3 separate regions of the Homo sapiens genome follow, and regions 2 and 3 are each linked to region 1. The links are contacts of gene promoters, found by promoter capture Hi-C in human tissues and cell types (Jung and others, 2019). All regions are on one chromosome and are shown on one strand. Each heading gives the region's core, a stretch centred on a gene start or on the middle of the fragment in contact. The rest is flanking DNA. Distances are from core to core; before and after follow the strand shown. Region 1 holds the start of OLIG1 (oligodendrocyte transcription factor 1). Region 2 has its middle 28 kb from the start of LINC01548. Region 3 overlaps LOC105377136 (a long non-coding RNA gene).

Evidence for each region. The method cuts DNA at HindIII sites, captures the fragments that hold promoters and counts their contacts. A contact is called where the count stands out against the background at its distance.
Region 2: a contact is called between a fragment that was not itself captured here and the fragment with the promoter of OLIG1 in region 1, in 1 of the 25 tissues and cell types used here (hippocampus).
Region 3: a fragment that was not itself captured here is called in contact with the fragment with the promoter of OLIG1 in region 1 in 1 of the 25 tissues and cell types used here (lymphoblastoid cells).

What each region holds. Positions count from the first base shown.
Region 1 is chr21:33,068,777-33,071,702 of GRCh38, forward strand. It overlaps OLIG1 (oligodendrocyte transcription factor 1), which reads left to right and starts at 1,365. Exons shown (of 1, transcript NM_138983.3): 1 at 1,365-2,926. The coding sequence starts at 1,471. The coding sequence ends at 2,286. The HindIII fragment of the contact is 10,124 bases long and covers 1-2,926 here.
Region 2 is chr21:33,197,310-33,200,009 of GRCh38, forward strand. No RefSeq gene overlaps it. Among named protein-coding and RNA genes, the nearest start is that of LINC01548, 28 kb to the left of the region's middle. The HindIII fragment of the contact is 3,160 bases long and covers 1-2,700 here.
Region 3 is chr21:32,919,637-32,922,365 of GRCh38, forward strand. The region is part of intron 4 of LOC105377136 (a long non-coding RNA gene); the gene reads left to right. Among named protein-coding and RNA genes, the nearest start is that of LINC01690, 38 kb to the right of the region's middle. RefSeq lists an enhancer at 1-171. The HindIII fragment of the contact is 7,002 bases long and covers 1-2,729 here.

The DNA.
Region 1 (2,926 bases), core at 115-2,614:
GGATGCTACAGGCAGAGCTGGGGGTCAGAAGCAAAGATCAGAGTGAACCCATGTGGCAAATATTGGTGGAAGAAAACCAGAACAAAGCAGCCCTGAAACCAGCAAGCACAGCCACCAAGATGCCCTCTTCCCCAGGACATTGACAAGTTATAGTAGCATGCACTGGTGCTGGGGGCAGAAAATGTCCATAGACACCAAGTAATGCTATTCTATTTGGCAAATAAAATGATTCATTCCCACCCTCAACCGATAGGACTATGTGGGTGTTTTGTTTTGTTTCTAATAAGAGGCCAATTTCTGAGTGACTTTTGCTTAAGCAAATGTCAAGTTGCTGATAGACCATCCCTTTCGGGGAGGATAGAAACCCGACCCAAAGGCTCCTTTGTCCCTAAAGACCTTTCAATCAGAGGGATGGGGAAGGAGGTTGGGAGCAGCAGGGAGGAAATATCCTAATGCTACTTGTCATTTAGTCCAGAAATTTAGCGACCTGAACCTGGCAGGAAATTATGTATTTTAAGAAAAAAAAAACATGATACACTCATGTTCATAGCAGCATAATTCGCAACAACCAAAAGCACCCCAAATGTCCATCAACGAATGAATGGATAAACCAAATGTGGTATATCCATATACTGGAATATTATTCAGCCTTGAAAAGGAAGAAACTTTGATACATGCTACAACATGGATAAACCTTGACGACAATATGCTAAGTGAAAGAAGCCAGTCACTAAAAGACAAGTGCTGTATGATTCTACTTATATGAGGGACCTAGAGTAGAACAAATTCATAGAGACAGAACAGAAGAGTGAATTCCAGGAACTTGGGTCGGGGGGAGTGGGGAGTTGTTTAATGGGTGGAGCTTCAGGGTTGCAAGTTGAAAAGAGTTCTGGAGATGGGTTGCACAACAATGTGAATTTAATTTAAATCAATTTAATGTGCACACTAATGCATATAACATTACTGAACAGTACTCTAAACATAAGACGGTAAATTTTATGTTATGAATATGTGATCACAGTTAAAAAAAAATATGAGGGAGGTTGTTTTTGAGTAGACAGTTGCTGGAGGAAGGCACGTGAGTTGCAGCCTGACCAGTGCGACCAGTCCTCCTTCAACAGCCCCGCTTGCCTTGAAAAGGCGCCCTTACTCCGCTCAGGGGGCCTGTCCCGCGCGGCTGGCACAGGCGCTCACAATAACCTCCTAAAGCGGTGCCAGCCGCACCTCCGCGCGGCCCCGGCACAAGCAGCCAATGAACACGCGGCTGCGCCCGGCCTCGCGCCTCCATTGGCTGCGCCCCGCCACCCGCTGCCCCGCAGGTTCCCAAGCCGGGTTTAAAGGGGTAGGGCGCGGGCCAGGGCCCCACCATCGTTTCCCCGCGCGCAGGTCCGCGGGGAGGGGCGGCCTGCCGACCGGCCCACCCCAGGGCGTTCCTGAAGGGCGTCCTCGGCCGCCCCCACCGCCTCCCAGATGTACTATGCGGTTTCCCAGGCGCGCGTGAACGCGGTCCCCGGGACCATGCTGCGGCCACAGCGGCCCGGAGACTTGCAGCTCGGGGCCTCCCTCTACGAGCTGGTGGGCTACAGGCAGCCGCCCTCCTCCTCCTCCTCCTCCACCTCCTCCACCTCCTCCACTTCCTCCTCCTCCACGACGGCCCCCCTCCTCCCCAAGGCTGCGCGCGAGAAGCCGGAGGCGCCGGCCGAGCCTCCAGGCCCCGGGCCCGGGTCAGGCGCGCACCCGGGCGGCAGCGCCCGGCCGGACGCCAAGGAGGAGCAGCAGCAGCAGCTGCGGCGCAAGATCAACAGCCGCGAGCGGAAGCGCATGCAGGACCTGAACCTGGCCATGGACGCCCTGCGCGAGGTCATCCTGCCCTACTCAGCGGCGCACTGCCAGGGCGCGCCCGGCCGCAAGCTCTCCAAGATAGCCACGCTGCTGCTCGCCCGCAACTACATCCTACTGCTGGGCAGCTCGCTGCAGGAGCTGCGCCGCGCGCTGGGCGAGGGCGCCGGGCCCGCCGCGCCGCGCCTGCTGCTGGCCGGGCTGCCCCTGCTCGCCGCCGCGCCCGGCTCCGTGCTGCTGGCGCCCGGCGCCGTAGGACCCCCCGACGCGCTGCGCCCCGCCAAGTACCTGTCGCTGGCGCTGGACGAGCCGCCGTGCGGCCAGTTCGCTCTCCCCGGCGGCGGCGCAGGCGGCCCCGGCCTCTGCACCTGCGCCGTGTGCAAGTTCCCGCACCTGGTCCCGGCCAGCCTGGGCCTGGCCGCCGTGCAGGCGCAATTCTCCAAGTGAGGGCGGGCCTGGGCCTGGGGCGCGACCTCGGCCCGGCCTCCCTTCGCTCAGCTTCTCCGCGCCCCTGCTCCCTGCGTCTGGGAGAGCGAGGCCGAGCAAGGAAAGCATTTCGAACCTTCCAGTCCAGAGGAAGGGACTGTCGGGCACCCCCTTCCCCGCCCCCACCCCTGGGACGTTAAAGTGACCAGAGCGGATGTTCGATGGCGCCTCGGGGCAGTTTGGGGTTCTGGGTCGGTTCCAGCGGCTTTAGGCAGAAAGTGCTCGCTCTCACCCAGCACATCTCTCTCCTTGTCCCTGGAGTTGCGCGCTTCGCGGGGCCGATGTAGAACTTAGGGCGCCTTGCCGTGGTTGGCGCGCCCCGGGTGCAGCGAGAGGCCATCCCCGAGCGCTACCTCCCCGGAGCGGAGCACGCCGGCTCCCAGTACTAGGGGCTGCGCTCGAGCAGTGGCGGGGGCGGAGGGGTGGTTCTTTTCCTTCTCCTCCGCCAGAGGCCACGGGCGCCCTTGTTCCCGCCGGCCAGGTCCTATCAAAGGAGGCTGCCGGAACTCAAGAGGCAGAAAAAGACCAGTTAGGCGGTGCAGACGGTCTGGGACGTGGCAGACGGACGGACCCTCGGCGGACAGGTGGTCGGCGTCGGGGT
Region 2 (2,700 bases), core at 1-2,500, 130 kb after region 1:
TTGTGGAACCCTATAAAGAAGGAAAGGAAGCGAGGGATATGCTGGATGAACTAAACTCTACAAAACAATGAAAATGGACACACCTCTTCTTCAGGCAATTCCACTTAAGATAGTTTCCAGCTGTTCTTATTTTAGCAAGATATCTACTTGGATATACTTTCATTAAGAAAAATGACATAGTGAACTCTGAAGTAAATATCAGATTTTTTTCACCCAGCAAATATTTATTGAGCAACCAACCACTTGAATGCCAGCACCGTGCTAAAAGCTCTCACAAAATTACTTTTATTGAATTTCCACAACAGCCCTTGTGAGAGAGGAATTCATATCTTCATTTTTCAACACAAGGAAGTTGAGAATGAGAGAGGCCCAGAAACAGCAGATCTGGCAACAAGCTTGAATATGCAGACACAAACATTCCACACAGTCCTCCTCTGAGGACACGACGCAACTGCTCCTTTTCAAGAGCTTATCACTTGGCACAGTGTGGCACCAACTGCAATCAGCAGTGCAGAGGCAAAGGCCGCTAGGGAACTCAGTTTATTTCTCTGCAGTGTGATCTGTATGCAGAAAATGGCCCTATCTTTGCCAGCCATCCTCTGCCATACCTCCCTAACCCACTGATGGATGCTGGGCAGGATAAGGGGGATAAGTTAATTTGTTCCTAAGTGTCTAAACAAGGATCCTTCTTAGAAACAGTGGATATTTAAGGTTGTCCCTTTGATCACATCCCAACAATCCCTAAATTCCATAGGCTTTCTTGGTTGGGAAAGAGGCAGAGCAACTGCTACCCATGGGAATGCATCATATTTGGAAATATAATGTTTCCTGTGCATTACAGAGGAGAGAAGTGGGAAGCATCGCCCGGTGCTGGAGGTACTCCAGCTACAGGTGGTACCCTCTATATCTTACTCTTTCCCGTACCTACATATGTGTAGTCAACTCCAGTTGATGAGATCAGGTTTTCAATTCTTTGTACCCCCCCACTGCACTTTGCAAAATACTGGCACATAAATTTAAAGTTACTAAATATTTGCTGGTGTGTTAGGAAAAACACATAGTCTGCATGCAGAAAACAGGAATTATACAAACTAGCATGATCAGACATATTTAAGATGTCAGCTGAGTTACTCTAGGGCAGAGCCCAAGGATGAAGCTTGGCTGAGGGAGGATAGGGGAAGTGCCTTGGGACCTTTAGATTATGGGTGGAAGGAACAAAAGACCCACATGGAACAAGACACTAGAGTTGGATTGACCCTTTGGGGAAGGAGAAGTTACGATATGACATCTAAACCGCAAGGAAGATGCCAGAAAAAGAAAGAATAATATATTGTGTAAGCAAGCAATTTCTTAATTTTAAACGTGTTTTTATATTCAGGTGAAATTGTTTTATTCAAGGTTGAATGACTACTAAGTTGCAGCTAATCAGAAGTTGAGAAAGAAATGCTTGGCAGTTGGAATCCAGTTTTTGCACATAATCAGAACCAGTACTGTCAGTTTCATGGCGTCTCAAAAGCTAAGACTGAGAAGGAAAAAGGGAACAGAGCCGGCCTTGTCACACCACAGACGGGAGCAGAAGTGCAGAACTGTCCCCATGGCATGTGTTCAAAAGAGTATCGTGTAGCAAACCCTAACCACAGCAGCAGTGGCTGAGCTAATCCTGGCTGGATCCCAGTAAGGCCCTTCTCGAGTCCCAGCAATGACGATGGTAGATTAGCAATCTCTTCTCAATGTGTCAATATCATCTATGTTTCTACCCTGCTAGCCTCCTCTTTTCCTTCTTTCTACCCCACCCTCAATTAACCATGCCTCCTCTTACAATTTCTAGTCTGCAAGAGACTAGGACAATAGAGAATCAAAAACTAGGGTAGAAACACAGAGGCTGCTGTGGTTAGCGCTTGCTGCGTGATAGATAGGTTTGGTTTTGTAGCAATAACACAAGGCGGAAAGTGATAGAAAATTCAACATTCTAACTGCAATTCACCAAATCTTATCTCCAGACTTGCGGTGTTTATAGTTTCAGCAACACAACCTGACTGCCAGGAGGAGAGTGAGGATAATAGCATGAATCCGACTGACAAGGAATATGTCTTGGAGAGCCGTGAACCATACCAGGAAGAGATTTTTTGCTTATAAGAGCATATTTGTTTGTGGGCTCTTTCCAGGAGCAATAGACTAAGTTGAAGATGTTTTATAAAAAGATAGTTTTATAGAACAGATATTAGGAAACTATTTTTTTATGATGACACACGGATCTTCAGCCTTGAGACTGTATCTTCCAGCCTGGTTGATCCTTCTGCACTGGTTGGTACACAGTCACTTCCCTGAATGTCCCCATCTCAATCCTCCCCACACTACCCTGTCCACTGAGTCCCACCCCAGGACCATCCCCAGCCCAGCCTCACAGTCCAGCATCCACAGGGTTAATGGCAGACACAGTAGAGAGCCGCAACAGTTGCTAAATATTGTCAATATCAACCCTGATTACAGGCGATCGATTCTACAAAGAACTCTACAAAGATTCTACATTCTTTATTCTATATAGATTCTGTAAAAGAAGAATCTAAGCACTTTGTTCTGCACCGTCCAAACATGAGTCATTGTTTTCAGGGCATCATTTGGCTTTTAACACAAAGACCCAGCAGAGGGAGCCGTTTCCTAACATGAAAGGAGCTATAGGCCCTGCTAAGACAGCAACTG
Region 3 (2,729 bases), core at 167-2,666, 150 kb before region 1:
GGCATGGCTCTGACATTGGAGACATATATTGCTAAACTAATAGGCTGGCTGGCCATTAGGAGATCACGACCTCGGCTCTTATCTTTTGTCAAGTTAACAGCTGACACCTCCTCTGCATGTAGACTTTCTTCTAGGCCTAAGGTAGATGCTGCTCCTCTAGCTAAGCTGGTGAGCTGAAGGCAGGCAGGAAACCAGTGCAGTTGGGCTTAAGGAGCTGACGCAGAGTCCCTCGGAAGCATGGTTCTTTCCATATTGGTTGAACTTTCTCTGCACAAATCTATGGTCCAAATCTATGAGTGAGGCAGATAAGGCTCTCACCTGAGTGACCCTGAGCAGGTCCCCTTAATCCCTGGCTCTGTTTCCTTATTCATATTTATTTTATTTTTAGAGACAGAGTCTCTCTCTGTTGCCCAGGCAGGAGTGCTGTGGTGTGATCATGGCTCACTGTAACTTCAAACTCCTGGGCTCATGTGATCCTTTGGCCTCAGCCACTGGTGTAGCTGGGACCACAGGCATGTGCTGCCATGGCTGGTTAATTTTCAGAATTTTTTTTGTAGAGATGGGGTCTCGCTATGTTGCCCAGGCTGGTCTTGAACTTTTGGGCTCATGTGATCCTCCTGCCTCTGCCTCCCACAGTGTTGGGATTACAGGCGTGAGCCACTGCACTCAGCTCTTTATTTATAAAATGTGATTGGACTGGGATTTCGCCTTGCCTTTTCCATTCTAGAAAGGACTTCAGCACAAAATAAGAGTAAAATCCTCATGGAATTTGCCATCTGGTTGAAAAGAAAAACTAGTGGCTGAAAATAGTCACGAAGAATTCAAGAACACAGTATAGTGTGTTACCTAGAATTATAAGAAGAATTTAAAAAAGGGAGACATTGGGGATTTGTAAGGGCTCCAGGCCAATTCCCTGAAATCAGCTGGGCCTGAGTGGGTGGAGCAGACGCAGGGAGAGGGCGGAGCTTCTGCCGACCTTGCAGAGTGAGTAGGATGGAAGGGCAGGAGGAGGTCCAAGCGACAAAGGCAGGCATGAGCATGGGGCCTGCATGCGTCTGGGTGTATGTGGACAGTGGGATGGGAGCTACCTGTGATCAGACCTGCTACATGGAGGCAAGCTGGGGGGTGCAAAGCCAGAGGAGACAGATGTGCAGGGGCAGAGGCAAGAGACATTTGGTGAGTGCAGAGGCCACAGCAATCTGGCTTTTTATCTCAGTGACTCTAAGGTCTGTCTTCAGGCTGATGGATGTGACAGCATGCCATCACTCGACAGATATTTACTGAGGTTCCCTCTTTGCTTGAGGAACTGTGGGGAATACAAAAATCAGAATATTCTGGACCTGCCCTCAGGGAGTTTATAATCGAGTCATTCCTTCAACTAATATTTCTTCAAGGACCTCTCTTTGCCAGGCTCTGCTAAGAATAATGGCAAATAATGGTTTCTTGGTCCCAGCCCTCGTGAGTTTATGGTCAAAGAGAAGAGACAGGCATATTATTTGACTAACTCCATTTCAAGTCAGACTGTGATGAATGTTGTGGCCAAGGTGGGAACAGAGACTTGTAGGAACACAGATAAGGGTGTGCTTAAGTCTGTCTGTGAGAATCACAGAAACTTCCAGGCACCTTCAAGGGCTCTAGAGCAGCACTGTCCAGTAGAACTTGCTGGAATGACAGGAATGTTCTTTACCTGCATTGTCCAGTGTGGTAGCCACATATGGCTGTTGAGCACTTGAGATGTGGCTAGAGTGACTGAGAAGCTGAATTCCTCATTTTAATCCATTGGAATTTAAATAGTCACATGTGATTAGTGGCCACCATATTGGATAGTGCAGCTGTAAAATGGTTAATAAAATGGTAGTGCAGATGACATGACTGGTGGTGCGATTTATGTGGAATGACATGTCTTCTTCCTTACAAAGGGCACTTTCCTTCTGTGCAAGGGTAGCAACATCCTAGAAGCCAGAGAAATAGCTGTTCCTTCAGTAATGCTATATCCCTTTGACCAACATCTCACTATCTTCATAGGCCACACACAGTGGGTGTATTGATTGATGCTGGCATAGACACACTGATAGGTAAAAAATGAAAAAGAATTTTAGATATAGAACGTCTTTTCTCCTCTTCTCTTCTAGTCTGAGTTCAAATCTCTCCTCTTCTGGCAATGTTTGGTCTTCCCTGGACCATCTTGGAGAGCTGAGAACCCTAAAAGCAGCACCAGCCTGCCCACCAGGGGGCAGCGCACGCACCATGAGGTTGTTCACTGGGCTTATCAAGATCTATCTGGCTAGGGTTGTTTTCCAAGGATTGGGAAGAATCGCTTCGGTCCTTCTTTGGAATTTGCTCTGAAGTCTTCTTCCCTTCATTGCTCCTGTTAGATGCTCCACAACAAGTGAAGAAATGAGGAAATAGATTTCTCTTCCCACATTAAAGCAAAGTTAATAAAATGGTCATGGGCACTGGAGAAGTCTTTGGCTTTGGTTTTGTTTATGCGATCATTTTTATGATAAAGATAGGAAAGGAAGAGTCCCAAAGCCAAGGCCATTGAGAGGAGATGAGTGGGGATTTCCACTCAAGGATGGCGAGTTGAATGCAGGGGTTAGCCTCCAGTCCCTCCTGAAACCCCACTAAAGCAACAACAGGGGAGGTATTTTGGAAGACATATAAACCTACGGAATGAAGAGAACAGAAGCAATGATAATAGCAATAAAATCTGAAAGTTTGGAAAGCAA